Linked DNA regions of Homo sapiens: region 1 is linked to region 2. The links are contacts of gene promoters, found by promoter capture Hi-C in blood cells and fetal thymus (Javierre and others, 2016). All regions are on one chromosome and are shown on one strand. The core of a region is centred on a gene start or on the middle of the fragment in contact, and the rest is flanking DNA. Distances in the headings are between cores, read along the strand shown.

Region 1 (2,800 bases), core at 54-2,553, 640 kb before region 2:
GCTGGGCTGAAATCAAGCTTTGCTTTACTGTGAACAAGTCATTTTCCACCTGAATTAAAACCAACCCAAGGGGGGAGAGGATGCTAGAAACACATTTTTGAAGCTGTTTTGAGAGACAGCTGCCATAATGGAAACAAAACAAAACAGGCTAGAAAAGGGGTTGGGGGGTGGGAGATGGTTATGCCTTTCCTTCCCTGTCAGTGAGATCATTCTACTGGTCCCCCTCTGGGCCCTGCTACCCCACTTATTGGGCCTCAGTTTCCCATTTGTAAAATGAGAAAGTAAGGCAATAGCAGGAGTTCTCCTCCAAGGTGTATGACTGACTCACTTACGAAACCTAAAATCTATACTCCCTGGCCCCACCCAGTCAGTAGGCCAAGGTTGGGACTTGGCCTTTTGCTTTTTTTTTTTTTTTTTTTTTTAACAAAGTCCCACTTCTGGTAGGCACACTTTGTGCTGTTTGAGCACCTCCAGATAGTCCCTGCAGGCTCTTCCATCACTGCAGTCCTCCGTCCTCTGACCAGTGATCGGGTGGCAGTGGATTCCTGGGACTCACTGAGGCCCCTTCCCCATGCCCACCAGTTCCTGGGCCACCTCCCGAAGGGCCACTTTGCACCTCTTTGCTGTCTTTCAAGAATCCTGACCGGCACTCGGCTTCTGACGACTGATAATGCTTGGAAACTCAGAGTCACACTCTTGTGGCTGCAAATTAGTAAACCTGAAAGCTCCTCGTCAACTCAGGCGAGCTGTGTGAGTGGGAAGAGGCCTTAGTTTTTGCAACTGCTGTCCCTGGGGGCAAACTGAAAAACAAACTGTATCACATCCTGAAGGCCAAAGGCCACACCCTCAGCCCCAGTGGAGGACTCTGGGGCAAGGATATTTCCTGGAGTCAGAGGAGAGGAGCCTCCATCTGAGCGCCACACCCCCACCCCGCATGGGCTCTGCACTTCCTCCTCAGTGGGGACTTGCTTTTCCCTTCTTCCTCATCCTGTTTCTGCCCCAGGCCCTGGCCCCTCACTGCCAGCCCCACACTCTGGGGAGGAAAGACCCTTTTTAGCGATGGGACTCCGAAAAGTTAACTGACCTGTCTAAGCCTCAGGTTCCTTATCTGTTGAATGTGGCCGTAATGCCTCACACTGTTGTTGGGAAGATTAAGTGATACATAAGGCATGGGAAGTGCTTACAGCAGAGCCTGATGCAGCACAGCCCTAGTAGACTATTAGCGTTATTCTGGAACTCCCTTCCTGCCTCACGGGTGAGCTCTTTCCCATTAATCAAGACCCAGCTCCCCTCCTTTGGGAGGACTTCCCAGGCCAGGCTCCTCAACAGCCTTTCTCTGTTGTCTGCGCACAGCACATTTTCCCTTCCTAGGCTGCCTCCCTCACCAGACTGGCAGGGGCTGAGCTTGTTCATTTGCATGTTCCCAGACAGGAAGGCTCAGTCAGTGCTGGTGGGTGTGCTGCAGTGGAGCTTGTTCCAATCTGGGACAGGGTAAGTGGGGTGGACAGTGGTTGCCCCAGTACAGTAGGCATGTGCCTCTGGCCACCTGGAGGGACCCTACAGGTATTTCCCCCAGCAATAGTGAACCATCATGGCCAGGTGCTGGAACATCCCACTTCAGCCATGGGATGGGTGCACAACCCTACAGCCATGGGCAGCGTCATGACAGTGCATCCACCGAGGTCTAAATGGCCGACTCATGAATGCCCTTCTGGCCATAAGCTGATGGCAGGTTGAGAATTACTCCTGCAGGACAGATGCTCCCCTGCAGAAGGGAGAAGCGTGCGTCACTTGCCCTACCCCTTGGACCAGTGGCAATGCCATCTCCAAATGAAATTCATGGCAAGGGCCTCCTGGCTCTTCGAATGTCACCAAAGAGCTTTCAGACCCTCCTTCTCTCCCTCTTCTTTCCAGCCCCTGCCCCTCTTCAGAAGGCTGGAAGCTCTCGCTTTAGATTCTTCCTGGATAACAAATTAGAATCTTAGGACCCTCAGAGTGCAGTCCCGCCCTCCAGCTTGGTGTCAGCCTCACCTCTGAGAGCTATTCCCCCAACAACGTCTTCTCTTCCAGCCCCTGAGAACTTGGCTGAACTTCCTTCAAAATGGTGTTTATTCGGCCAGGTGCAGTGGCTCACACCTATAATCCCAGCAGTTTGGGAGGCCAAGGCAGGCAGATCACCTGAGGTCAGGAGTTTGAGACCAGCCTGGCCAACACTGTGAAACCCTGTCTCTACTAAAAATATAAAAATTAGCCAAGCATGATGGTGCATGCCTGTAATCCCAGCTACTTGGGAGGCTGAGGCTGGGAGAACTGCTTGAACCTGGGAGGCAGAGTCTGCAGTGAGCCAAGACTGTGTCACTGCACTCCAGCCTGGGCGACAGAGCGAGACACTGTCCCAAAAAAAAAAAAAAAAAAAAAGGAAAAAAGAAAAAAGATGTTTATTTGCTTTCCATCTTGCCTGCATTTTGTCCATTTGTCCATCCATTTATTGGTCAGGAAAGGCTTTCCTGAAGAGGTGACATTTGATAAGAGGGCCAAGGGATAAGGAGTAGTTAGCTGGGCCAAGGCAGGGTCTAGGATGGAACGGGAAGAAGCTTCCAGGCAGAGGGGTGATCATGTGTGAAGGACCCGGGAAAGAAGAGAATGAGGCAGAATGGAGGAATTGAAAGATGGTCCAGGAAGCAGTATCAGAAATTGAGAGAGGCATAATGGGAGTTGAAGTTTTGAAGAGTAGGCTGGGACCAAATTATGCAGGGTCTGTAGGCCATGTAAGGGCAATGGCCATTGTCCTGAGAGTAAT
Region 2 (3,044 bases), core at 270-2,769:
ACAAAGAGGAGGTGCAGGCACAGTCAGGCTGGACCAGGCTGGGCTGCGACCCCAGCAGGAACCGGGAGGGGCTGCCCACTGGCCTGGCCCCACCCCTCCTTCTCAAAGTGGGATCCGCCCGGAGGGTCACATCTCCTGGCATGCCTTGAGAGCAGAGAGCCCACAGCCCACCCCGAAAAGGGTGTGAGGGGGAGCAGGAGGCTCCCTCCTTACCTCCCTCTTCTCAGCTGGTTCCCACCTCCCACCCGCTCTGCCTTAGAATGAAAAGTGGGGCAAGAGGAGGTGAGAAGCCCGGGCTGAACGCAGACAAAGGGGAGGCCCCTAAAGCGTTCCTGGGCGCTCCCGGTCCCCAACTCCCTTCCTTCCACTCTCCCTACTCCCCATCTCCTTTTCACTGGGCAGGAGCTGGAAAGGGGCGATGCTTGTGTGTGGTGGGGAGCTGCCATCCAGGCTGGAGCTTGTGGAGAAACCCAGCCCCTGACCTGTGTCCACCAGCTAGGGAGTGTCTGGTGCTGGTGGGGGCTGCCTGGGGGTACCTGGGGTCCACGAAGGGAGGTACCCACCCAGGGCTGAGCAGGGGGCTTACCCTCTAGAGTGACCAATACTCAGAATGGGAGGGGGGACAGGAAGGGGAGACCAGAGCAGGTCTGGGACACCCGTGGGGGCCCCTCCCCAGCTCCAGGCTCCCAGCTTACAAACCCGGAATTTGTTGGGGTTGGAGAGAGGGGAGGTGGAAAAGGAAGAATTTTCATTTCTGAGGCTTGAGGGGAAATCAGGCCTATGACCCCAAAGGAGGTCTGGGTGGCACCGAGGTGCCCTGCAACCCCAGGAGGGCGCAGCCAGGGCCGATGGCGGCCCCCAGGGGCACTCGCCGCGGGGCTGCCCGCTCGGGGCTCGGCCGCGGCCGCCTGGCTCACCTGCATCTCGGGCGCGCCTTCGGTCCGCTCGGCTCGGTCACCAATCGCATGTCTCTCCAGCCGGCCCGACCAGGCCCCAGCCCCTGCCCAGCCCCCTCCTCCGTTTCCTCCTCCTCCGACACCTCCGCCCGGCAGTCCGCGCGCCCTCGCGGGGCTGGCTGTCCGTCTGTCCGCCCCGCGCGGGCGGGAGCCGAGCCGGAGCCGGGGCCGGGGCTCGGGAGTGGGGAGGCGGGAGGCCGCGGCCCCGGCGGGCGGATGGGCGGGCGCGCTCAGGCCGCGGGACAGGGGCTGCGCGAGCCTGCTTCTGCCCCCTGGGCCGGCCCGGAGCCGCCGCCGCCGCCTCTGCCGCTGGGGCCGGGGTCGAGGCCGGGCGCGCTCCGCCGCGGGGCCGGGGCCGGCGGGCAGCGGCCGCGCATGCTGCTCGGCGCCCCGCGTCGGGAGAGGGGCCGGAGCGGCGCGGGTGGGGACTCCGCGCCCTCCGGGGCCGGGACCAGGACCCACCGCCGCCGCCGCCGCCTGCGCTGTCGCCCGCCGCCCGCTCCGGCTCCCGCGCCGGCTCCCGCTCGGGCTCCGCGCTCTGCAGCGGCGCGGGGAGGGAGCACTAGGAGCGAGCCAGGGAGGGAGGAGGGATCGAGGGAGGAGGGAGCGAGTGAGCCGCGGGAGCCGGGCGGGGGAGGAGAAGGCGCGGCCGCAAAACCTGGTGATGGTGGTGGTGGGGTGGGGGGTGGTTCGTCTCCTTTCAGCGGAGGGGGCGGAGAGCGAGGGGCGCCCCAGCCGCTGCCCTGCACGCTTAGGGCAGCGAAACAGGCAGGGGTGCGCAGGCGAGGGGCGCACCAGCCAGGCGCTCCAGCTCTGCACACGGCCGCGCCCCTCCGGGTCCGGGGCTCTGGGCGAGTCCCGGGCCAGCCGGGTGTCGGGGAGTCCGGCGTGCGGTCCTCCCTGGGTGTATGCGCGCACACCGTTGTGTGTGATTTTTGTGTTGCCACATGCGTGTGCATGTGAGCGCGCGAGTGTGTTTACACGTGTTAACTGGGCTGTGGACGAACACACGCACGAGGACGGACAGGGCTCCCTACACGAACAGGGTTGTTTGGAGGGCGGCATGGGGAGGCCGACCGGGAGCCCCCGTCCTGGCCCTGTCCCCTCCTCTCGAAAGTCCGCGAGGCTAGAGGGCCCACATTCTAGCGCGGGAGGGCGAGGCAGGCAGAATGGGAAGCTCCAGGGGACGGCGAGGAAGCCGCGCTGGCCCGGCAGCTCTACCCAGGAGCCGGGGTCCCCGCCCAGCCTGGCTTCCTGTCCAGCAGAGGGCGGCAGGCCTCTCTGGCCCGCTCCGTCCGGAGGCCCTGCACCCAGTGGCCAGCAGAGGGCAGCGCAGAGCCTCCGCCTGGGCTTGACTGTTCCCTCCTCCCGGAATGGTCCCGGGGATCCTCGGCTGGGGCCACAACTTCAGACGGGCCCAAGGAATGGGACCTCTCCTCGGAGATCCAGATCCTCCTTGATCCTCAGATACAGAAACTAGGCCAGCAGGGATGTCTTGGCAAAGCCTGCAGAGTAGGTTACCACCCTCAGGACCTCACCTTTTTCCCTATACTACCCCCTCCATCTCCTTGAAGCCAGACGCCCTTTACCACCAAGCCAGTTTTATTAGAATAACCATCAATGCTGACACCGCCCGGCACGGCCATCCCTCCTCCCCTGCTGGGAACAACCCATTAGCACATGAATACTCCTAATAGCTTGAGTCCACAGGGGCAGCTGAGGCTGGGGGAGGGGATCTAGCCCAAAGCCTCTCGGATTCTGGGGCAGACGCTGGAATCCCAGTTCCAGTGACACCCCCTCTCCCAGGAAGCCTGCGCAACATCATTGCAGAGATGCCTGGTTGCCACGGAGGGACCTCTCCCCACCCCCAACAGCACCTTGTTTCTCGCTGTTCAGCCTCACACACAGCCCAAAGGCTTGCACAGACCTTCTGTTCCAGCTGCACCATTTCTGGGTACTTCTCAGTCTCTCTGGCACACCGTTGCTCTGGACAGTCCTGTCTGGAGCACTTTCTCCTGTCTCCTATGTCTATGCCCATCCTCAACCTAGGCCTAGCTAGAGTCCCTCCTAGCAGGCGTCCATGCTATG

What was found. Contacts are between HindIII fragments. The CHiCAGO score rates a contact against its expected background, and 5 or more counts as called.
Region 1: a fragment that was not itself captured here is called in contact with the fragment with the promoter of LINGO1 in region 2 in 1 of 17 cell types (endothelial precursors); the score reaches 5.0 in endothelial precursors.

What each region holds. Positions count from the first base shown.
Region 1 is chr15:76,987,854-76,990,653 of GRCh38, forward strand. No RefSeq gene overlaps it. Among named protein-coding and RNA genes, the nearest start is that of PSTPIP1, 5.9 kb to the right of the region's middle. RefSeq lists an enhancer at 519-678. The HindIII fragment of the contact is 2,577 bases long and covers 16-2,592 here.
Region 2 is chr15:77,631,393-77,634,436 of GRCh38, forward strand. LINGO1 (leucine rich repeat and Ig domain containing 1) reads right to left here and starts at 1,520. Exons shown (of 2, transcript NM_032808.7): 1 at 918-1,520. The coding sequence starts at 923. RefSeq lists enhancers at 2,339-2,902, 2,344-2,473. The HindIII fragment of the contact is 14,548 bases long and covers 1-3,044 here.